7 separate regions of the Homo sapiens genome follow, and all the other regions are linked to region 3. The links are contacts of gene promoters, found by promoter capture Hi-C in blood cells and fetal thymus (Javierre and others, 2016). All regions are on one chromosome and are shown on one strand. Each heading gives the region's core, a stretch centred on a gene start or on the middle of the fragment in contact. The rest is flanking DNA. Distances are from core to core; before and after follow the strand shown. Region 1 has its middle 54 kb from the start of JAK2. Region 2 overlaps SPATA6L (spermatogenesis associated 6 like). Region 3 holds the start of RIC1 (RIC1 partner of RAB6A GEF complex). Region 4 overlaps RCL1 (RNA terminal phosphate cyclase like 1). Region 5 overlaps RCL1 (RNA terminal phosphate cyclase like 1). Region 6 has its middle 7.7 kb from the start of AK3. Region 7 overlaps CDC37L1 (cell division cycle 37 like 1, HSP90 cochaperone).

What was found. Contacts are between HindIII fragments. The CHiCAGO score rates a contact against its expected background, and 5 or more counts as called.
Region 1: a contact is called between a fragment that was not itself captured here and the fragment with the promoter of RIC1 in region 3, in 1 of 17 cell types (monocytes). The highest score is 7.1, in monocytes.
Region 2: a contact is called between a fragment that was not itself captured here and the fragment with the promoter of RIC1 in region 3, in 5 of 17 cell types (neutrophils, non-activated CD4 T cells, total CD8 T cells and 2 more). The highest score is 9.7, in neutrophils.
Region 4: a contact is called between a fragment that was not itself captured here and the fragment with the promoter of RIC1 in region 3, in 1 of 17 cell types (neutrophils). The highest score is 5.8, in neutrophils.
Region 5: a fragment that was not itself captured here is called in contact with the fragment with the promoter of RIC1 in region 3 in 1 of 17 cell types (neutrophils); the score reaches 5.5 in neutrophils.
Region 6: a contact is called between a fragment that was not itself captured here and the fragment with the promoter of RIC1 in region 3, in 14 of 17 cell types (neutrophils, monocytes, fetal thymus and 11 more). The highest score is 24.3, in neutrophils.
Region 7: a contact is called between a fragment that was not itself captured here and the fragment with the promoter of RIC1 in region 3, in 4 of 17 cell types (neutrophils, erythroblasts, monocytes and 1 more). The highest score is 14.8, in neutrophils.

Annotation. Positions count from the first base shown.
Region 1 is chr9:4,929,846-4,933,008 of GRCh38, reverse strand. No RefSeq gene overlaps it. Among named protein-coding and RNA genes, the nearest start is that of JAK2, 54 kb to the left of the region's middle. The HindIII fragment of the contact is 9,721 bases long and covers 1-3,163 here.
Region 2 is chr9:4,662,374-4,665,323 of GRCh38, reverse strand. All of the region lies in intron 1 of SPATA6L (spermatogenesis associated 6 like), which reads left to right. It overlaps PLPP6 (phospholipid phosphatase 6), which reads right to left. Exons shown (of 1, transcript NM_203453.5): 1 at 66-2,950. The coding sequence starts at 2,948. The coding sequence ends at 2,061. Among named protein-coding and RNA genes, the nearest start is that of PLPP6, 1.6 kb to the right of the region's middle. RefSeq lists a silencer at 2,636-2,895. The HindIII fragment of the contact is 490 bases long and covers 1,006-1,495 here.
Region 3 is chr9:5,627,536-5,630,736 of GRCh38, reverse strand. It overlaps RIC1 (RIC1 partner of RAB6A GEF complex), which reads right to left and starts at 1,630. Exons shown (of 26, transcript NM_020829.4): 1 at 1,284-1,630. The coding sequence starts at 1,427. INCR1 (interferon stimulated noncoding RNA 1) reads left to right here and starts at 1,010. Exons shown (of 3, transcript XR_007061406.1): 1 at 1,010-1,170. RefSeq lists an enhancer at 810-1,310 and a silencer at 1,331-1,870. The HindIII fragment of the contact is 4,913 bases long and covers 1-3,201 here.
Region 4 is chr9:4,840,239-4,843,747 of GRCh38, reverse strand. RCL1 (RNA terminal phosphate cyclase like 1) reads right to left here. Exons shown (of 9, transcript NM_005772.5): 6 at 2,391-2,516. Among named protein-coding and RNA genes, the nearest start is that of MIR101-2, 8.3 kb to the left of the region's middle. RefSeq lists a silencer at 1,145-1,439. The HindIII fragment of the contact is 7,127 bases long and covers 1-3,509 here.
Region 5 is chr9:4,812,746-4,815,898 of GRCh38, reverse strand. The region is part of intron 1 of RCL1 (RNA terminal phosphate cyclase like 1); the gene reads right to left. Among named protein-coding and RNA genes, the nearest start is that of RCL1, 21 kb to the right of the region's middle. RefSeq lists an enhancer at 169-318. The HindIII fragment of the contact is 2,784 bases long and covers 1-2,733 here.
Region 6 is chr9:4,747,185-4,750,527 of GRCh38, reverse strand. No RefSeq gene overlaps it. Among named protein-coding and RNA genes, the nearest start is that of AK3, 7.7 kb to the right of the region's middle. The HindIII fragment of the contact is 4,823 bases long and covers 1-3,343 here.
Region 7 is chr9:4,681,714-4,684,781 of GRCh38, reverse strand. The region is part of intron 1 of CDC37L1 (cell division cycle 37 like 1, HSP90 cochaperone); the gene reads right to left. Among named protein-coding and RNA genes, the nearest start is that of CDC37L1, 3.7 kb to the right of the region's middle. The HindIII fragment of the contact is 2,745 bases long and covers 237-2,981 here.

The sequences.
Region 1 (3,163 bases), core at 167-2,666, 700 kb after region 3:
TGTATCCTTAAAATACCCTCCTCCTTACTTGCAGTAATTTAAATTAGTCTCCTTGCGAACAAAACTCCAAACAACTATCCTGTACCTGCACCATGGGCTGCTGGATGCCAACCAGGTGAGGCAGTTACTAACCTTGAAGAAATTCGCATGCAACCTCAGCCCTGTGGAAGTTCCGGATACCTAGGTATTAGGAAAGAGGGAAAGTGGCCTGGGGAAAAGAGAGTAATCCATTCATTTGGGACTCTAACTTCTAGGGGATCTCTAATTGGAACCCCTCAGTAAGAGAGACGCAGCACTGCTCTTCTTGTCTCTCCCCTATTCTCATTTCTCCCAATTCCTTGCATGGATGGTAGTGATGCAGCTGGTGCTATGCCCTACCCAGAGCAGAAACTACTGTAGCAACATAACCTAGTTCTTCAGAGAATCTACCATCAATGTGTCACCATGGAAGTGTTTTATTAGTATGGCAATATATGCCCATGTAATGAGAACCTTCATGCATTGCTGCTGGAAATGTAAAATGGTGCAGCCACCATGGAAAACAATTTGATGGTTCCTCAAAAAGTTAAACATAAAATTACCATCTGATTCCACAATTCCACTCCCGGGTACATGCCCAAAGGAACTGAAAGCAGAGAAGCAAACAGATAGTTTTACACCAATGTTCAATGCAGCATTATTCACAATAGCTAAAAGGTAAAAACAATCCAAATGTCCATCGACAGATGACAGATGAAAGGATAAACAAAATGTGTTATACCTATACAATGCAATATTCTTCAGTGGTAAAAAGGAATGAAATTCTGAGGTATGCCACAATGTGGCTTAACCTTGACAACGTTATGCTAAGTGAAAGAAGCCAGACACAAATGTTCACATATTTTATTATTCCATTTATATGGAACATCCAGAATAGGTAAACACATAAAGACAGAAAGCAGACTAATGGTTGTCATAGATTGGGATTGGGGGGAATAGGTAGCAACTACTTAATGAGTGTGGAATTTCTTTTTGGAATGATGGAAAGAATTCTGGAAATAGTCGTGATATTTACACAACATTGTGAATGTAACTAATGCCACTGAATGGTACATTTAAAAATGATTATAATGGTAACTTCTATGTTATATTTGTTTCACCACAATTAAGATATAATTATGTGGCTGGGCGTGGTGGCTCACGCCTGTAATCCCAGTACTTTGGGAGGCCGAAGCAGGTGGATCATGAGGTCAGGAGATTGAGACCATCCTGGCTAACATGGTGAAACCCTGTCTCTACTAAAAATACAAAAAACTAGCCGGGCATGGTGGTGTGCACCTGTAGTCCCAGCTACTCGGGAGGCTGAGGCAGGAGAATGGCATGAACCTGGGAGGCAGAGCTTGCAGTGAGCCAAGATCGCGCCACTGTACTCCAGCCTGGGCAACAGAGCAAGACTCTGTCTCAAAAAAAAAAAAAAAAAAGAGAGATATAATTTTGTATGTGTATTTTACCACTATTGAAAATAATAATAATAATAATAAAACACGACTGTCAGGATGTCTGAGCTCAGGGCTTCTGTAAGCCAAACCTTCCAGCCAGTTCTAAGGCAATGGAAAGTGCTGCACACTAGAATTATCTGAAGAGCTTCAAAAAATCCCAACATGAGGACCACATCTTGAACCCACTCAATCAGAATCTCTGGAGGTGGGCATCAATTTTTTTTTTTTTTTTTTTTTGAGACGGAGTCTCACTCTATCACCTAGGCTGGAGTGCAATGGCATGGTCTTGGCTCACTGCAACCTCCGCCTCCCAGATTCAAGCAATTCTCCTGCCTCAGCCTCCCAAGTAGCTGGGACTATGGGAACATGCCACCACACCTGGCTAATTTTTGTTATTTTAGGTAGAGACAGGGTTTCACCATGTTGGTCAGGCTGGTCTTGAACTCCCGACTTCGTGATCCACCCGCCTCGGCCTCCCAAAGTGCTGGGATTACAGGTGTGAAGCACCACGCCCAGCCAGGCATCAATATTTTAATGTTCCCCAGTTTATCTAATATGCAGTCAAGTTTGAGAACAGTACTCCAAGCCTGTTTGCTTCTCGAACTTTAGCATGCATACAAATAACTTGGGCATCTTGTTAAAACGCAGATTCCGATTGGTAGCTCTGTGGTGGTGTCCAGGCAGTTCTAACAAGCTCCCAGGTGACACTAATGTTGCTGATCTTTGGACTACACCTTGAGTAGTAAAGCCCTAAGCCACTGGCCAGCTATCTATTGTCTTAAAACAGAAAATTCCGTCAGCACTTAAGAAGTGATTCTAAGACTTAACAACCTTTTTTTATTAGGAAGGTCTTCATAGCCAACTACATTTTTATTACCCACATTTCTTCAGCTTCATAAAACATTCATCACGGCCTTCTCCCAAAGTCCCAGATATTATCATCGGCTAGTTGAATTACTGAATATAATCTTACCATCACTTCTGCTTTTGTCTGATTTCACATATTTCTATAGGTCCAAGTATAGATCCAGAAATATCCATTTTGTAAGCTAAAGTTATTTCCATGTCTTGATTTCAGTACATAAAATATAACTATGAACCTTTCAGTGAGACTTTGTGCCAGATAATTCAGGAATAAATCATCCAAGATCTTGACAACTTTGCCGCTGATGTCAAAACCATTCTTTCCCCCAATATCAAACAGTAATAAAGTTGAGAAGTACAAGCATAAATTGAAAGTAGATGAGGATAGAGAGCTATGCTCCTCTCAAATCTATACACACACACATGCACAATCAAGCACCTTCTGAACTACAGAGCCATCAGTCCAAATACCATTTACAATTATTCCTTGACCTCTGGAAGATTCAGATTGTGCAAATATTTGATGACTCAATGAGTTACCCTTTCCTGGGAAATTTATAAAGCATCTCTGTGTAGACTATCAGATCTTGCACAGGCTTCGTCATGTATCTGTGGAATAGTAAGGACTAGTCCCGTGTGGATGTGACCTCTCAGTGTCCAGGGCAAGTCACAGGTGCACTCTGACTTAGATTTGGCATAAGGGAAGTAGAGTAATGGCCTGTTGGTTTCTGACAAGTGTTTCCTCTATAAGTTTTTCCTAGCACTTCCCTTAATACCTAGTGAACATACAGTTAAACAAACAGAGAAAGTGAGTCCTTTCA
Region 2 (2,950 bases), core at 1-2,500, 970 kb after region 3:
CTAAGTGATAAATCTGTCTCCCTCCTCATCAAGGCAAAAATTAAGCAAGTTTTCATCTCACTTCATTCACCATTATTTGTTAATTTTATTTTGATTTTTAAAAGGCATTATTCAGTGTACAATTAACAAAGAAATCAGTTTTCTACTCTACTGTACTTAGGATGCTTCAAAAACATCAGGTGAAATGATCTATGCTTTAAGAGCCAGAAAACTCAGGCCTCAGCAACTAAAACAGAGAATTCCAAAATTGTAATTACAAATCAGATGGTAAGCCTAATTTCATGCCCCTAATATTCAGATTTGTGGACACTGCAAGAGGAAATATCATTTGCTTCCAAATATCTGGCTTGAATATTGCTGCAGTTAAAGGATCTCGCTAAGGTTAAACAACAAACCCAAACCACTTAGAGCTTCACAGTTTAGCTGCTTTAGCAAGTGAAGAGGTAGTCGGTATTCAGGATGCTGTGGGAATGCAAATGATTTGATTTTGAGGCATGGCTGTTCCTTTTTCACTATGCCCCTCACTCTGAACAAGCTCATGCTTTCACTCAATCAAAACCTACTTATCACAGCCGTTCTCCAGGTTCCGAACCTCCGTATGGCAGATCAAAGTCCATAATCATTTCTATTTATAAATGCCAAAATAGTCATTAAGATTATCTGAGGACATCACTTCCATAGGTAATTTAAAGGATTTCTTTTCAGGTAGAGCAGCACTTAAAGCACATACCTTCTCCAGTCTTTCTGGGTCAAAGAATAATGAGCAGAGTCCACCCTGCGTTTGGTGGTCTTTGGTCTTATGATTTGGGGAGGCACCATGGATGAACAGCTTTAAATGTAAAGGTCAATGTAAACAGAAATTTTGGAGTTTTATCTTGTGCCTGGTATAGCAGCAGACTCCCATGATGAATTTCAAGTTAAATACTGTTACCTAAAATGTGCTGTACCTCAGAAAACGGAATTCCATGTGAAAAACTGTAGCATACAGGTATATACGAGAAAGCTTATGTTCTTGCATTGAGAAGACGTTCCTTTTCCCCACTTTATTACCCTGAAAGAGGAGCATTATTCTTTATTCAGTGGAGATGACTGGCAGCAGGGCCCCATCTCCTGTCATACTGGTCACTGGCATAATATGTGGTCAGCCTATTCCCAAACTTTCAGTTCCTCTAACTTTCCCCAGCAACTTAGTTTCTCTGCCCTCTCTCATGCCATGTTACGTTGTAAACAAAAATAAGCATGGGGCCATGTCCCATTCTTCCTCTTCTATGAGCATCTTAGATATGCCTACCTTTTAAGTGATTCCTCTTTAAGCAAGTTGGCTTTTTCTCTGAATGCTAAAAGACAGTAAGGGAGTAGTGGGAAATGCATAAAGATCTTTTGAGGGATGGAGGGAGAGGAGAGAAAGACAAGTATTATAATCTCTTTTCCCACTACCCGATCCACAAATATGGATAGAGATAATAAATTATAGAGATAATAAAGTAAAAAAGCTTACCAAGAAAATCAGGATTAAGAAGAAATCTCCCAACTGTGGCAACAGATCTTCAGGGAATAAACTAGAAAAACCTATGTCTTGGACTTTAAAAATACTGTTTAAAATCTACCTCAGGAAAAGGACTAGGATTAGTACATGACCTGTCTGCATGTATATTTACAGAATGAACATCATGTTTCTTTCTCGAAGTTCAGTTTACAAGTGGTATGTTGATTTAGGGATTATCACAAAACACAAATCTTACTGATACCAACTTTTAACAGCAACAGTATAACCACCTCAGCTTGTTTTCTTTGCAGTTGTCCTGGAAACATAAACAGTTGTTGAATAAATATACAATAGAGGATTTTTTGGGTTTTTTTGCTTTCCCTAATATGGCTGTGTTCAGTAATGGCCAGTGTGTGCTCCAGCCTAGCAGCACATCAAGATCATGGGACACCTGAAATCCCAAAGGAAGCCTGAAATGCCTAAGAGGGACAAGCGGGATGGCTGCTGGTTTAGGTTGACATCATCGAATGTGGAAACCTTCAGACTTCCTGGTGCCATAATCAATGAGATGGTGTCATCGTTGACTCCACAGTAAAAAGAGGACCGGAGCATTATGGGGTGAGAGCCAGCAATAGTCCACGATGCTGTACTGCATGTAGCCCAGAAAAAAGCCAAAAGCTACGTCGGTGACATTGTGCCGCCCCAGCATGACCCTGGATAGGCCCAAGACGAAGGCCCACAGAACCACCAGCACCCTCAGTGGAATGGCCAGCACCAGGTGGTTCAGGATGAACCTCGACATCAGGGCGGCCCTTGTGGCATGGCCCGAGGGGAAGGAGTACTTGTCCACCGAGAGAGTGACAAACATGTCCATCTGGTTGTGGGCCGGGCGGCGCCTGCGGACCAGCCCTTTGATCAAGGCCACCAGCAGCAGGTCCAACAGCAGGGCGAAGAGCAGGTTCATCAGCACCTCGCGCCCGGCCCAGCTGTCGCTCCTGCACAGGCAGTAGAGGGTGCCCAGCAGCCAGGGGATGCCGTGTCCCGAGATCTCCAGCAGCTTCATAAGGGGTCGCACGCTGCCCCACGACGAGCTCTCTCCCGCGCACACCCCCAGCTTCTTGGACAGCCACAGGTCGATGGCCAGCAGGGAGCGCAGGGCGATGCCCAGGAAGGACGGGTTCAAGTCCATGCGGTCCTCCTCGGGCAGCGGAGGCGCGGGCGACTGCGAGGGGCCCGCCGCGGCCAGGGGGAAGGAGCCGCGGCGGTGAACTGGGCTCTCCGATGCACGGAGCCGGGCGCAGGTGGGGTCCACGGCCGTGGCGCGGCTGCTGAGCAGGGACTGGAACTCAAACCTGCTGCCGCCGCCACCGCCGCCATGGGCTGGGCTGCCGGGGCTGCTGCTGCTGCTCGAAGCGGAGACGCCCAGCGGCCGTCCCTCCATGCTCCTCCGGGGACTTGGCATCG
Region 3 (3,201 bases), core at 381-2,880:
AAATACAATCAGGCACTAGACAAAATAGTCATATTGTTGGTATTACGATTTTATAAGTTTGTTTTGTTCTGATTTGCATTTGAAAATTAGATCAGCCAAAACTTGATGGCAAATAGTCTGATTTACAGCCCAACTATGACAGTCAAAGGAGACACCAGAATTACCCGTCACTAAATCCCATCACCAGTATTACCAGGGAAGTGGGTGAGGACTGTCAAGGGCATTACAGGTAATGGAACAGCAACACACAAAGATTTGGGGATTTTAACAAACTAAAACCAGTATTTCACGAACACCTAATAAGGACAAGATCACAACCTATCCCCACATGGTCAAATTAACTTGGAAAGGAGAAAAACTTCACTCTGACATCGATTGGTACTGCCTTCTTTGGGGAGGAAAAAAAGCATTTTTATACTCTGAACTCTGTCGTTCTCATAGACAAAGTTATAGCAGTGTTTGCAGAGAGTAGGGAGTATCCCATCCACCACTTATTTCTTTCTCATATCTACTCAGTAATTCAATACAAGAAAGAAAAAGATAACCAGGACTTAAAGCAAAAACAGAATTCAGTTCCATGCTCCTCCCAAGCCTTATTATTTCCAGGTGTTATAACTGGGAGTTCCGCGGACAGATTTGAGTTCTACTTCCGCTCCTTTAACCCCCTATTCCGAAGAGTCCAAGAGCAGCAGCAAAGAAAAAGACCAACTCGAAAGTGGGGAAGGGATGTTGGGGTTAAAGAGGGGAGTTAAATAACCAGACCTTTAGTGAAGAATAAAGAATTCAGGCTGTAGTTTGTAGAAATAAGTTATTACAGGCCTGTAAAGTCTGGCGCTGGGTAAAGCCCAAGAGGCTTTCCCTAACTCCAAAACGGCGACCTTTAAAGTAAGGGAGGGTTGGGGCACCACAGCGGCCGGATTTCTAATTGTGGAAAGTTTAAACAAATTTGTCCCTCGGGGAATGGGGGAAGGGAGAGAAGAACAAGTCTGGGCTCGGCCGGGGAGCGTGCGGAGTCTGCACGCCGCGGCCGTCGGTCCAACGCGGGGAGGCTCAGGGATTTTCGGCAGCAGCGACTTCATCCACCCCGGACCGCCGGCTGGAGGACGTGCCTGCAGCCGGCGGGTACCTGCGGCCAATTCGGTGGAACGAGGACGCGGACTGCGAAGGCAGGTGGGTCTGGCACGAAGGGGCAGGAGTCCTAGGCTCTGGGTGGAAGTTGGGGGTGGGACGGCGCCGGGAGGCCGGGGAGGCAGCGGCGAAAGGCGGCGGGCGGCTCTACTTACTCGGCTGTACCAGATGCTGAGGCGGGCCGCGGCCAGCACGGCGAAGAAAGCCCTCTGCGGGTCGGACTGAACGTGGAAAGGCGCCTCGGCCGGGCTCCCCAGAGGGCACAGCAGCCTCTTGGGCCAGCCGCTCAGAAAATACATGGTCCGTGCGGAGCCCCCGGCGCCCCCAGTTGCGTCCGTCACACTCAGCGGCCCCGGGCTGGTCGCCCACCTCCCACACCGCCACCGGCCGAGTCGGCGGCGGCGGCGGCGGCAGCTCGGGGCATCTGCCCGCTGGCCTGGCCGGGCCGGGCCGACGCAAGGCTGCGCGACGAAGGCACCCCCAAGCTGACGGGGCCGAGTGTGGGGGAGGGAAGGGGAGGGAGAGTAGGGACACAGAGAGGGCGGGAGGAGCGCGGAGGCCCGCCCCGACCCCGCCCCTTCCTCAGGCCGCGCGGGCGTCACCACGCCGCGCCGCGTGGGTCGGGCCGGGGAGGGCCCGCGCGCGCGCTCTGGAGACTCCTGCGGTCTCCCTAGCTGTTTCTTGAAGCTCTGCATAAGCCTCGCCCGCGGCCGCCGGGTTGCGTCCGCACTTCTGCGCGCTGGCCCCTCCCTTGCTCCTCTCCCTAGCAGTCTCCAGGGTTTTACCGGGAGGACCTAGGCAACGGCCTGAGACTCCGAGGCAAGTGGGGCGAGTCTAGGGATAACGCAGCAGCAAGGCTACTGGGCCGGTGGAACACGCCCTGGCCTGGCCAAATTGGACCTCCCTTCCGGATTGGCGGGGTCTCGGTGGGGGCGGGCCGGTTGCCGGGGGGAGCTGGAGTCACGTGACGGCCGGCGCGGTTTCCCACTTTGGGCTGCCGGCCGCTGTGGCTGTGGTGGGCGGTAGGGGCTTTTACCGTGTGAGCTCCTTTAATGCCGGGGTCTGCAGTGAGAGCTGGTGATGAAGCTCCTGCCGGTGTGGAGCTTACATCCCTAAGGGAGCGTTTATTTAATCAGTAAATAAACCACTCACCATGAAAGTATTGAGTTCTGTCTCCTGCCTTTCAGGAGTTCTAAATCTATGTCTTTGAAATCCATTTCCATTCGTCTCAGCCTTACCAGCCATAACTTTAGATGAGAGGAGGCTATCTCTTTCGTGCTGCAAAAGGCTTGGACTTAGTTTTAGAACTGGAAGGGACTGGTGATAGCGTAGGTCCATATTTAGCTTTTGGACCCCAGGTATCACCTTAGCTGTAACTTTCAACGGATTGACCCAGTGGTAACGTCTGAATAGAAGGAGGGTTGAGGGGATATGGTGTGGAATGGGGGAAGGAGGAGTCTGAAATAGAAGAAAGATTTGCTTCTCATTGTCTACCTTTTTTAGTACAGTTTGAATTTTTCCATATGTTTGTATTACTTTTTCAATTAAAAAGCCAGGTTTAAAAAATGACCCCACATTAAAAAGTAGCAACGTAGGCGGGGTGCTGGGGCTCACGCCTGTAATCCCAGCATTTTGGGAGGCCGAGGCGGGCAGATCACTTTAGGTAAGCAGTTCGAGACCAGCCTGGCCAACATCGTGAAACCCCCGTCTTACTGAAAATACAAAAATTAGCTGGGCGTGGTGGCAGGTGCCTGTAATCCCAGTTCCTCAGGAGGCTAAGGCAGGAGAATCGCTTGAACCTGGGAGGCGGAAGTTGCAGCAAACCAAGATCCCTCCACTGCACTCCAGCCTGGGCAACAGAGTGAGACTGTCTCAAAAAAAAAAAAAAAAGTAGCAACATAAACAGAAAAAAGGAAACAAAGAAACTTAATTCATATTAGATATAGCATTGTAGCTGGTATTCATAACCAAATATGTAACTTTCTGTAATTTTTCTAAACATTCACTGCATTCCCTGGAAGGTGATGATAGAATCCTGTATTCCTCAAATGGAGGTTGAAACTGCCTCACCAC
Region 4 (3,509 bases), core at 791-3,290, 790 kb after region 3:
GAGAGAAAGCAAGACAAGGTGCCACTGCTGCTTTACCCATTTACCTGCATTTCCCAAGAATTTCCATCTGTGTGAGTTTTCTAAGGTGTATTTGTCATTACGATAAACTTTATATTTAATCAGAATTATTCCATTTAACACAATTTAAGTAACTTTAGAAAAGACAAAGAATATATATTAGGTTCTATGTAAATTACTCTAATTTTTCTTCCCAACTTGTGGGAAATATGTGTTATCAGGCCTATTTCAAGTTAGGCTGACCAAGCTGCTGGTCATCAGGTGACCTCATTAGAGATATGCACTGGTATAGTTTGCAAAGGCCAGCCTCCACAGCTTTCCTTGGTAAAGGACCCAATTAAGAAAAAAAAAAATTACTGTGAGAGTTAAAATGGGACCACACTGGACTGATGTGCATTCTGGCCAAAGCGCTGACATAGGCCACCAAGAAGTGCTGTCCCCTAAGGTTCTAGGCCATGGCCACAACATAAACTCTTACATCTGAACAAGCCTGACTTACTGGATACTTCACTGAATCAGAAGAGAGAAATACCCATCCATGACTTTATAATTTTAATAACAGAGAAGGAAGAGCACTATTAGTCATCTGTAACTGGAGATTTAAAAAAACCAAACACAAATTTAAATCCCACATTGGTTTTACATGTAATTTTTAAAATGGGGCTTGGAGTTGATGGCCCACAGTCTACATCATGTCCATGTCTTTATCTACGTGTAAGGCTTCTACTCACCATTAGTAAGTATGGACTTGACCACACTCTAGGGTCAGCTGAGTCAGTGGTATAACAAAAAGCCACACTATAAGCTGGTGGCAGGATGGCTGTCAGGCCTGCTCTGCTTCATGCCAGGACACTTTCTGATAAAGCGAGAGGCAAAGCAGAGAAGGGACTATCGAGATGAAGCCATTTAGACAGCTTCTGCTGCTATCTGTCCTCCCCCATCCCTCGGAAATCCCCTTTCTCCAGAAAATAGCTGACACATAATTCCAGACCTGTGGCCAACAAGGGAGAGTAAAGGAAAGAACAGCATCAGGAGCTACCATTTCTGTAGGACTTACCATGTGACAAGCAAGGTATTAATGGCTTATATGTGTGATCTTTACAATAACCCCAAAACATAGGCATCATCACCCTCAATGCATAAATGAGGAAAATACTGTTGTTACTAGAATATAAACCAAAGGTTTAGGAACATCATTGACTTTTCCAAGCCAGAAAGTCCAGCTTTGCCCACAAATCCTTTCCCAACCCCAGCGTTATGACGCCACCAGCTTTGTTGCTTTGGACTATGAGCCTCCACTGTATTTCTAAAACTACCTTCATCTTTCCATTGGGCCTTATAAAGGTCAAAGGTTGTATAAAACACTCACCCCCCTCCTTTACTCTCTTTTCCTCTTTTTGCTGAAATTAAAAGAAACCACAGGTGAAACAGCTGTGAAAAAGGATCAGCTGTGGCATCACTTAAGAAGAAGTTGACTTCTTAACCTACAACAGTTAACCCCAGACTCTAATATTCTTATTTTTAGGAGACACAACCTGCAAAGCCTCAGATGTGAAGTGAAATGATGCCCATTCACACTGAAATGATTCAGTAAAAAACAAAAACAAACAAAACCCACAAACAAGTGAAGCAAATTTGGCAAAATATTTATCGTTAACTATAGGCAGCAGGAGTATATCTCCGTGTTCACTGTACTATTCTTTGATCTTTTCTGTATGTTTAACACTTTCCTATTTTAAGAAAGTGGCTTTAATTGCTTCTCTAACTTCCTAGTTGCTAAATACACAAGCAAAGCCTAAAACAGGTATCTTCATTACATAGAGCATCATTTTTTAAGAACTTATTTTCCTTACTTAGAATTTTTTTCTAATTTTTAAAATTTTTATTTTTTAGCAAAGCAAAGGCTTTCACTAAACCAAATTCACGTCTGCAATAACAACTTTCTCTGGATGTAAATATGTTGTTTCCACTGATGAAGAGAGATGCTGACTTACACTTAGATAACAAAAGATTTTAACCCTATACTGTTATTTACTCAGGGTGGAAGAACCTGTCCACTTTAATTTTTTTGTTGGAACAGAGTGCAGATGGAATTTAAAGCCTAAAGCATTGTGTATTAATAGATAAAGGTTTTAATTCCCCAAGGCTAGGAACCAGACCCTTAGCTTCCAGCTCTAGCCACTGGGATGCTTTCCATGTGACAGGCACTCAAGAAATGCCTGTTGGTGACAACGGCAATAAGGCAGAAAGAAATTAATTCTGAAATTGTTCTTCCTCTGGCTGCGCAACCTCAGAGCTGGCAGTTTTAACTTCAACTAGAACAGGCATGTGAAAAAGCTGCAGAAACAGACTTCAAAAACACAGATACTTACTTCCCAGAGTTGACTCCTTTCATGTGATCTGTGTAAATATAGATATCAGGTATGAACTTGTTGAGGATGCTCCTTGCAGAATCCACAATCCGGTTCGCCATCTGAGGTGACACACGTACAGAGTACCTGCAGCCTGGAGTTAAGGATGTCATTCTGCTTGAATTCCAGGACAGAGAAAAATCAGTTATAAAGCTGGCAAGTATTTGTGGAACTGTAGTAACAAACTGGGACTTCCAAATCTATTGTTTTCCAACTGAATTTACTGAATTAGTACCATAATTAAATTTTTTTCATTATTATAAAAGGTCATGGCAAAAACACCCAAACAATAGAGACAGTGGAAAGTATAAAGCTGGAGGTCCTCAACCCCACCCCCTGACTTCCTACCCACACGCTTCCCCTAGAAATGGTTCAAGTCAATTTTGGAAGGTGTAAAGACACCTGCCTCTCTGCGGGTCATGATCCAGGCTCCCTCTGAAGCACAACACCTAAGAACACTTTCTATTCTCTGTCCATTCCCACTGCTGTAGCCAATGAGTCTCTCTCTTAAGAACCTAAGCCCAGAACAGACACCACACAGGACCTGGGCGATCCCAATCTGACTCCTGGTATGCTGATGGGAGAAGCAGAAAAAGTTCAGTGAAAGAACATGGTTGCTGCTATTTATAAATATATAAAAAGGTTTTTCTCATTTACAGGGCCTATTTTCTACTATTTAAGAATTAATTACTCCACTTGTGGATAACACAGCCTCCTCACACCTGCTACCTTATGGTTAAAATATTGATAATTAGCACTCCTACAATAGGGCACCCCAGAAAAGAAAGGAGGAAGATATTAGTAACTCAAGTGAAAAGATTGGTGCTTGAGGAAATGGAAATTATTGCCTAAAACTAGACTTTATAACAGAAGCTGGCATTCCCCAACCACACATGTCAAAGAAAAAGTAAGTATGTATTGAGCACTTCAATGTGCAATGTATGGTCAAGAGATGGCTATATATTTGGAACTAAAAAAATGGAGAAATAACATGTGACCTTCCCACTACCCTGATACAAACCCCACGTGACAAGTCCAACAGGTAGAACGAGGTATATAATCTGCCCAATCCAGCCCAAT
Region 5 (3,153 bases), core at 92-2,591, 810 kb after region 3:
CCCTGCTGCAAGGAGGTAAGGAAGAGGATCCTAGCGATCCCTATCAATACCTTAGACACTTACAGACCTCACCACTGAGGAACCCTGCAGTCCTCATAGGCCTAAGCTGCCTGGAGTATACATACGTAGCTGTGCTCCCCACAGAGAAGGAGTCAACACCGTGCCCAGCTCCCTGTGGCCTGCGCTACACTATCCTGGAATTAGAACTATGGCTGGAGTGTGTCTTGCTCCAGGAGCAAGCAGCAAAAACTCCCCTTTTCCCGTGAGGATACACCCTAGACCAGTGGCCCAACATCCTCAAGCCGAGCTTTAAGCGGCTACTGTACCTTTCAGCATGGTGCCAAATGAAGATGGAGCCACTCCACCTACCCCTACCCCACCCCACTGGGCCAGATCTGATGCTTCCTGGATAAATTTTAAAATTTGCAGTTGCAAAAAAAAAAAAGAAAAGAAAAATACTGCAGCTTAAGACTTCAATGAATGAAATAAATATAATAGAACTAAAATAGCAGACATGATCAAGCATAAGACACAAATCTCTGAACTTGAAGATAAGTCTTTCAAAATTACCTACTCAAAGAAATAAGAAATGAGAATGAAAATGAAATGAGAACACCTACAAGACTTACAGGAAATCATTAAGCAAACAAATGTTCATGTTATGAAAGTTCCAGGAGGAGAAAAAAGGAAGCACAGAAAGCCTGCCAAATGAAATAGGTGAAAAGCTCCCAAGGCTGATAAGAGGTATGAACATACAGATCTAGGAAGCTCAAAGGTTCCAAAATAGATTCAACCCAAAAGGGTCTTCCCAAGGCATATTAATAGTTAAACTGTCAAAAGTGAAAGATAAAAAGAGAATTCTAAAAACAGCAAGAGAAAAAGGCATCAAGTTAATACAAGGAAATCCCCATTACACTAAAAACAGATTTCTCCAGAGAAACCTTATAGACCATGAGAGAATAAGATGATATATTCAAAATGCTGAAAGAAAAAAAAAACGTCAACCAAAAACACTATACCCAAAAAAGCTATCCTTCAGAAATGAAGTCTTTCCCAGACAAGCAAAAACTGAGGAAATTCATTACTATTAGCCAGGCCTTACAAGAAATGCTCAAGAAGGTCCTACATCTAGAAATGAAAAAATGATAATCACTACCATGAAAAAACATGAAAGTATAAAACTCACTGGTAGAACAAATACACAAAGGACAAAGAGAAAAAAATCAAACCTTATCACTATAGAAAACCATCAAACTGCAATGACAAACAATAAGACGGGAAGAAAAAAAGGAGACACGAATCAACCAGAAAACAATTTTTATAAGGACAGGAGGCTAAGTACTGTGGCTCATGCCTAGAATCCCAACACTTTGGGAAGCCAAGGCAGGAGGATGATCATGCCCAGGAGTTGGCGACCAGCCTGGGCAACAAAGCGAGACCGCCATCTCTACAAAAAATACAAAAGCCGGGCATGGTGGCAAACACCTGTAGGGAGACCAGGCCGGAAAGATTGCTTGAGCCCAGGAGTTCAAGGTTGCAGTAAACTATGCTTGTATCACTGCACTTCAGCGTGGGCAACAAAGTCAGACCCTATCTCTAAAAAAAATTTTTTTAAATTTCAAAACCCCCTCATGATAAAAACTCTTACGTTAGGTATAGAAAGAACACACCTCAACACAATAAAGGCTGTATATGACAAACTCACAGCTAACATACTGAATGGGGGAAATTTTATTTTATTGTATTTTTTTAAATTATACTTTAAGTTCTAGGGTACATGTGCACAACGTGCTGGTTATATATGTATAAGTGTGCCATGCTGGTGTGCTGCACCCATTAACTCGTCATTCCCCCCACCCCATGACAGGCCCCGGTGTGTGAAGTTCCCCACTCTGTGTCCAAGTGTTCTCATTGTTCAATTCCCACCTATGAGTGAGAACATGCAGTGTTTGGTTTTCTGTCCTTGCGACAGTTTGCTCAGAATGATGGTTTCCAGTTTTATCCATGTCCCTACAAAGGACCTGAACTCATCATTTTTTATGGCTGCACAGTATTCCATGGTGTATATGTGCCACATTTTCTTAATCCGGTCTATCACTGATGGACATTTGGGTTGGTTCCAAGTCTTTCCTATTGTGAATAGTGCCGCAATAAACATACGTGTGCGTGTGTCTTTGTAGCAGCATGATTTATAATCCTTTGGGTATATACCCAGTAATGGGATGGCTGGGTCAAATGGTATTTCTAGTTCTAGATCCTTGAGGAATCGCCACACTGTCTTCCACAATGGCTGAACTAGTTTACACTCCCACCAACAGTGTAAAAGTGTTCCTATTTCTTCACATCCTCTTCAGCACCTGTTGTTTCCTGACTTTTTAAGGATCGCCATTCTAACTGGTGTGAGATGGTATCTCACTGTGGTTTTGATTTGCATTTCTCTGATGGCCAGTGATGATGAACATTTTTTCATGTGTCTGTTGGCTGCATAAATATCTTCTTTTGAGAAGTGTCTGTTCATATCCTTTGCCCACTTTTTGATGGGGTTGTTTGATTTTTTTCTTGTAAATTTGTTTAAGTTCTTTGTAGATTCTGGATATTAGCCCTTTGTCAGATGGGTAGATTGCAAAAATTTTCTCCCATTCTGTAGGTTGCCTGTTCACTCTGATGGTAGTTTCTTTTGCTGTGCAGAAGCTCTTTAGTTTAATTAGATCAAATGGGGGAAATTTTAAAGCTTTTCCTCTAAGATCTGGAACAACTCAAGGATGCCTACTATCACCACTCCTACTGAACATAGTACTGGAAGTCCTATCCTAGCCAAAGCAATTAGGCAAGACACAGAAATAAAGGGCATCCAAATCGGGAAGGAGGAAGTTAAGCTGTTCCCGTTTGCAGACAACATGATCTTATATATAGAAAACTCTTAAAGTACTGCCATGAACTCCTAGAACTGATAAACAAATTCAGTAGTTCTAAGATATAAAATCAATACACAAAAATCAGTAACATTTTTACATACTAACAATGAATTAGCAGAAAAAGAAATCAATAAGCAATCGCATTTACAAGAACTAAAAAAAACCATAAAATACCTAGAAATAAATTTAACCAAGGAAGTGAAAGCTCTCTAAAAGGAAAACTTTAGGACACACACAA
Region 6 (3,343 bases), core at 404-2,903, 880 kb after region 3:
TGTGATGTCAGAGCCCAGAAGTGGTGAGAAGGATGTCTGTGGAGGGGGTGGTCTGGTCCAGCATAGAGTATCAGAGCCCCAGCCAGATAAGAGTGTCCATATATCAGGCTGATGAGTGGTCGGTATGGAATTCTGTAACCCAAGTGGGGTGAGGAGGACATAGAATAAACTAAAATATGTGTCAATATTATTTTCTTATGGTACAGGCTTCCTCATTGTCCGTCTTTCTTAGGGCTTTCTCAGATATTCTTATTTATCTTTCCAAGTGAACGTCCTAATAAAATTGTCTTAGCTCTAAGGCGCCCTCTTCTGTTTCTTTTGCAAAGTGTTAAACAATATGACATTGTAGTATCTGAGTTCCACCTTCTCTGTTCTGTTCCTTGACTTTTGTCTAGACCTTATCTTTCTTTTTTCTCTAATATCCTTGTCTGGATAATTTGAATTCTACTCCCAGAAGTTTCTCCTCAGAGAAAGCATTTCCTATATGCATCCAGTACAATTTGAAATCACTAATTTAGCTGCTGAATAGTTATGGAATTTGGGGCAAAATTATCCTCATTTTTTAAATCTATAAATTGTAAATGAAATGTAATTTATTTCATAAGGGGTTTTTTTTGACAACTAGAAGTAATTTTCTTTTTTCTCTTTTTCCTTTTTTTTTTTTTTTTTTTGAGACAGTCTCATTCTGTCACCCAGGTTGGAGTAGAGTGGCACGATCTCAGCTCACTGCAACCTCCACCTGCCAGGTTCAAGCGATTCTCCTGCCCCAGCCTCCTGAGTAGCTGGGACTACAGGCAGGCGCCACCATGCCTGGCTAATTTTTTGTATTTTTAGTGGAGACAGGGTTTCACCATGCTGGCCAGGCTGGTCTCAAACTCCTGACCTTCTGATCTGCCCACTTCGGCCTCCCAAAGTACTGGGGTTACAGGCGTGAGCCACTGTGCCCAGCCTAGAAATAATTTTCAATCAGTTCTCAGTCCTACCTATCAGCAGAATTTGACTCATTTCATCATATTCTTCTTGAAACACATTCTTCAATTGACTTCCACGACACCATACTCACCCAATTTTCTTCTTAATTGGCCTCTCCCTCTCTTTCAGGTTTTTTCAATGTTTCTTCCATATCTTCCAACCTCAAAATGTTAGACAACCTCAGAACTCAGATTTCAGACCTCTCCTCTCTATCTAAAGTTGCTCCCTAGTGAGCTTGTACCATCTCAAAAATTTAAACATATTGACAACTCTCAAATTTATGTCTCCAGCCTGGACCTCTACCCTGTGGTCAAAATTTATACATCTGCCTCCTTCCTTATTTTCTCTGCCTGGATGTCCAACAGGTATCTCGAAGTTAACTTATTCCAAAACAACTCTAATATTTTCACCCAACCTGTTTCTCTTATAGTCTTCCCAATCTCAGCTAATGACAATTCTATTCTCCCAGTAGCTCAGGAGAAATCTCTTTTTTTCCCTCACTTTAATCCATCGAATCCACCAGGGACTCACGTTGGGTCTACATTTAAACTATATGCAAGAAGAGGGCATCTGCAGAGGAGAGCTGCCCAGCACAAGTGCCAGAGTCTGAGTGGAGTGAGGAAGATTTCTCCATGTAGACGGCAGTACAGTGTGGCTCAGGGTTTTGGAGTCTGCACAGAGTGAGTAGAATGCTCATAGTCATAAGCAGCCTGGCCTGTGATGTCAGAGCCCAGAAGTGGTGAGAAGGATGTCTTTGGAGGGCGTGGTCTGGTCCAGCATAGAGTGTCAGAGCCCCAGCCAGATAACAGCGTCCATATATCGGGCTGATGAATTGTCGGCATGGAATTCTGTAACCCAAGTGGGGTGAGGAGGACATCTGCATGGAGAAAGGGTAGGCAGTGGTGATAGAAGGTTGGGTATACACAGAGTGACTGATCATAAATGTGGATACATGAAGGACATGAGAGTCTGTTAGAGACACTAACTCAAAATCCAGAAGCAATGTGTTACTCTGTGTTAGGTAGATAAGAATAAAAGAAGACTGAATGTAGTGGTTCACACCTGTAATCCCAATATTTTAGAGGCTGAGGTGGGAGGATCCCTGGAGCCCAGGTATTTGAGACCAACCTGGCCAACATAGCAAGATCTTGTCTCTACTAAAAAAAATTAAAAATAAATAAATAAATAAAAATTAGTGGGGAGTGATGGCATGTGCCTGTAGTTCCAGCTACTTGGGAGGCTGAAGCAGTAGGATCAATTGAGCCCAGGAGGTTGAGGCTGCAGTGAGGTATGATCATGCCACTGCTCTCCAGCCTGGGTGACAGAGTAAGACTCTGTCTCTAAAAAATAAAATAAAATAAAATAAAAATTGGTGGCTTCAATATATGAGGAGAAGACAAGACTAGGATTGTAGTGAAGGATGGAAGGGAAAAAATGAAAATAAATCCTAGAATATTAGATCAGAAATGAAGGTATCAATGTAAACTCATGGCTTCAGTAATACATAGATAAACATAGAAATAAATGTAGATGTAAACGTGTGTGTAAATGAATACAAACATATTTACATATTCCTTAGCCCTGTCCTCTGAGAGGGCCTTAAAGCAGCAACACATTAATAGTAATGAGCACACTGAATGCACGGGCCTCAGTTTCTAAATTCCATATTCCACTAAAGGAAACCAGGGATTCTTGGAGAAATGGTTGATCTCAGCCATTTCAATGTGTTGCTGGGTCTAGGAAGTCCAAGATGAACCTGGACCTTCTTATGCCAGAAAGTAAAGAAGTGCACAAAGAGTAATGGGGACATGCCAAAAGGACACAGATGCTAGCTAACACGAAGGAGATTCCATTAGCCAAATCTTAAATGATTTGAACATCAAAATAAATAATAATGACAATGGCTTACAACCAATTTAATAAAATAAGAAACCATATAAATAAATGTAAGATAGTGAGTAAATTAAAAGTTTGATGAAAGATAAGGTATTTACAAAGTCTGAACTTCAACTACCCTCTTACAGAATACTTTTTTTTTTTTTAAAGACAGGGTCTCACACCGTTGCCCAGGCTCTAGTGCAGTGGTACGATCATAGCTCCCTGCAGCCTCCACCTCCTGGGCTCAAGTGATCTTCCCACCTCAGCACCCCACTCAACCCACTCCCTGAGAGGCTAAGAATATAGGCTGGGCCACCATGCCCAGCTAATTTTTTTTGAATTGTTGCCCAGCTGGTCTTAAACTCCTGAGCTCAAGCAATCCTCCCTCCTCAGCCTCCCAAAGTGCTGGGATTATAGGCGTGAGCCACCGTGCCGGGCCTAGAATACTTGTTAATTACAAATGGAAAAAGAGTAATTTCATAGTGGAGAGATC
Region 7 (3,068 bases), core at 360-2,859, 950 kb after region 3:
ATTTTGGTATATAGTATATCCTGTGTTCTAGGTCTGCAGTCATGTTTTTATATCTTAGTCCTTGTTTCATCAACTAACTTCTAAACTTCTTTGTTAATTTAGGCCTATCCCCTGACAACTAACAGCAACAAAAAGCCTGGCAACTATCACAGTGTCTTGCATAAAGCTAGTGCTTAACAAACGTTTAATTAATAGTCTTCATAATCCTGAACAAGCAGAATAATGAGAACAAAGCTTAAATCTAGTTCATCACCTCAATACTCAACATGCTGACAACCAGGCCTTTATAATTTTGTTCTCCAAATTCTTCACTACAAAAAAACCTCCTTTTATCTAGAAGTAATCGTTTCTTGGTTTCTATTTTCTATCTGTATTTTTCCAATCCTTGGTGATTTGAGAAGTTCTTATTGGATATTTCCATTTATAACTGATTATATCAGACAGATATCCTTTAATTTATTCCTAATCAAAATAGGCAAATTATATATATATATATTTTGTGATGGAGTCTTGCTCTGTCACCAGGCTAGAGTGCAAAGGTGCGATCTCAGTTCACTGCAACCTCTGCCTCTGGGGTTTACGTGATTTTCCTGCCTCAGCCTCCCAAGTACCTGGGACTACAGGCATGTGCCACCATGCCCAGCTAATTTTTGTATTTTTAGTAGAGACAGGGTTTCACCATGTTGGCCAAGATGGTCTTGATCTCTTGACCTCGTGATCTACACACCTTGGCCTCCCAAAGTGCTGGGATTACAGGCATGAGCCACTGCGCCTGGCCACAAAGTTACATTTCTTAAAAGTGACAATGGTCTACCCTGCTGACCGTACTACTCCGAAGCAGTAGTAATTACTTTTATTTACTTAATTACTACATGTAAAGTACTGTGATAGACATTCAATACCCTATATTCCTTGGCTCTATAAAACAAAAGCTGAAGGCACATTCTTTATGAGTTCTTCGTCAAATGTACATCAACTTCAGAATAATTTCTCTCCAATCTGTTCCCATATCTGCATCACTATTCAAGCCCTTATAATTTCACATGTGAATTATACAAATGCAGACTCTTATCCCAAGCCGTTCTCCACTCCACTAGACTGGAGTGATCTTTCCAAAAAATGAATCTGATCTTTTTTTTCATTCTTAGCTTTGGGATAAAGTACATACTCTGTGGCAAAGCCCTTCGTGATGTTATTTCCCATTACCTCTTTAGACTCAGTTCCCATTGCTCTTCTACTTGTTTGCTTATTCTTCCCTTTCCCACCCTTGTCCCTCACTTCAATTTGGCAATCCTCTTTCTTCGAGGTAACTCCTACAGAAACTCCTATCTTCATCCAGATTCTGGCATGCCCTAAACTTTTTCTGACCCAGTGTCTCCCGACCCAAGTTATGCATATTTCTGTTGTGGTGTTTGTCATACAATATCATGCTTATTTGTTTACTGACTGGTGGTGGTAAACAATTCTGAGGCAAGTAGTAACCAAGGACCCTACCTCTTAGCTGAGTCTTCAGGCAAACTCACGTTTGTACTGGGACAAATGTGGACACTTGCTATTCAGATGTTTTATTTACTCATTCAGCAGGTTTGGAGCCAAGGTACTATAAACCATGTCCCTAAGTATATTTTATAATATATATTCATATATTATAAAATATATATAAAATATATTTTATATATAAAAATAAAATATATATATAAAATATATAAAGTATATTTTAAAATATATTTTAAAATATATTTTATATATAAATATAATATATATTTAATATATATATTATATTTTAATATAAAATATTTTAATATAAAATATAATATTTTAAAATAAAATATTTATTTTTACTTTTTGTTATCTTAGAATAGGATCAAGAATAGTTATCTTAGAATAGGATCAAGAATAACTGTAGACTAGCTATGCTTAAAACAGAGCCAGGAAAAGGAGAAAAATTAAGCTATATAACTTATTTTGTAAGAAAAGATGTAAGAACTTTTGTATATAAAACTTCTTTTGGCTGGGCTCAGTGGCTCACGCCTGTAATCCCAGCACTTTGGGAGGCTGAGGCGGGCGGATTACCTGAGGTCAGGAGTTCGAAACCAGCTTGGCCAACATGGCGAAACCCCGTTTCTACTAAAAATATTTTAAAACTTAGCTGGGCATGGCCGGGAGTGGTGGCTTACACCTGTAATCCCAGCACTTCAGGAGGCCGAGGCGGGCGGATCACGAGGAGGAGCTCGAGACCATCCTGGCTAACGTGGTGAAACCTCATCTCTACTAAAAATACAAAAAATTAGCCGGGCATGGTGGCGGGTGCCTGTAGTCCCAGCTACTTGGGAGGCTAAGGCAGGAGAATGGCATGAACCCAGAATGGCAGAGGTTGCAGTGAGCCGAGATTGCACCACTGCACTCCAGCCTGGGTGACACAGCGAGACTCCATCTCAAAAAAAAAAAAAAATTAGCTGGGCACAGTGGTGGGCACCTGTAATCCCAGCTACTCAGGAGGCTGAGGCAGGAGAATCACATGAGCCTGGGAGGCGGAGGCTGTGGTGAGCCAATATCGTGCCATTGCACTCCAGCCTGGGCAACACAGCAAGACACTGCCTCAAAAAAAAAAAAAAAAAAAGAGAAAGGATAATATATCAAGAAAAGTAATATGGTAATATGGATAAATAGAAATTATCTTGCATTTTCAAATTATTTGGGAGCAAATATTCTTTTCTCAAATCGAAAAATTCTAAAAATAATGTATGTCTTATTTCTCCACAAACTACCCAGACAACATTTGGCCATTTGGGCAAACTATCCAACATGTATTCAGATATTAAATAAAATATTAGGTCACATTCTAATCCATGACCATACAGAAGTTTTAGAGGGACATTAAACATGATCTGCCTTTACATTAATTGGATCTAAGAACTACATATCACATACTACATTAAGAAGTCTAGATCCCCCTTATTTGATAAAATTAAGCCAAAGCTTTTTTTAGGATTATAAAATGTTAATCAATTAAACATTTTATTTTTTCCAAATATTCCAATCCAAAAATTTAAGTCTTAAAGCCAGTA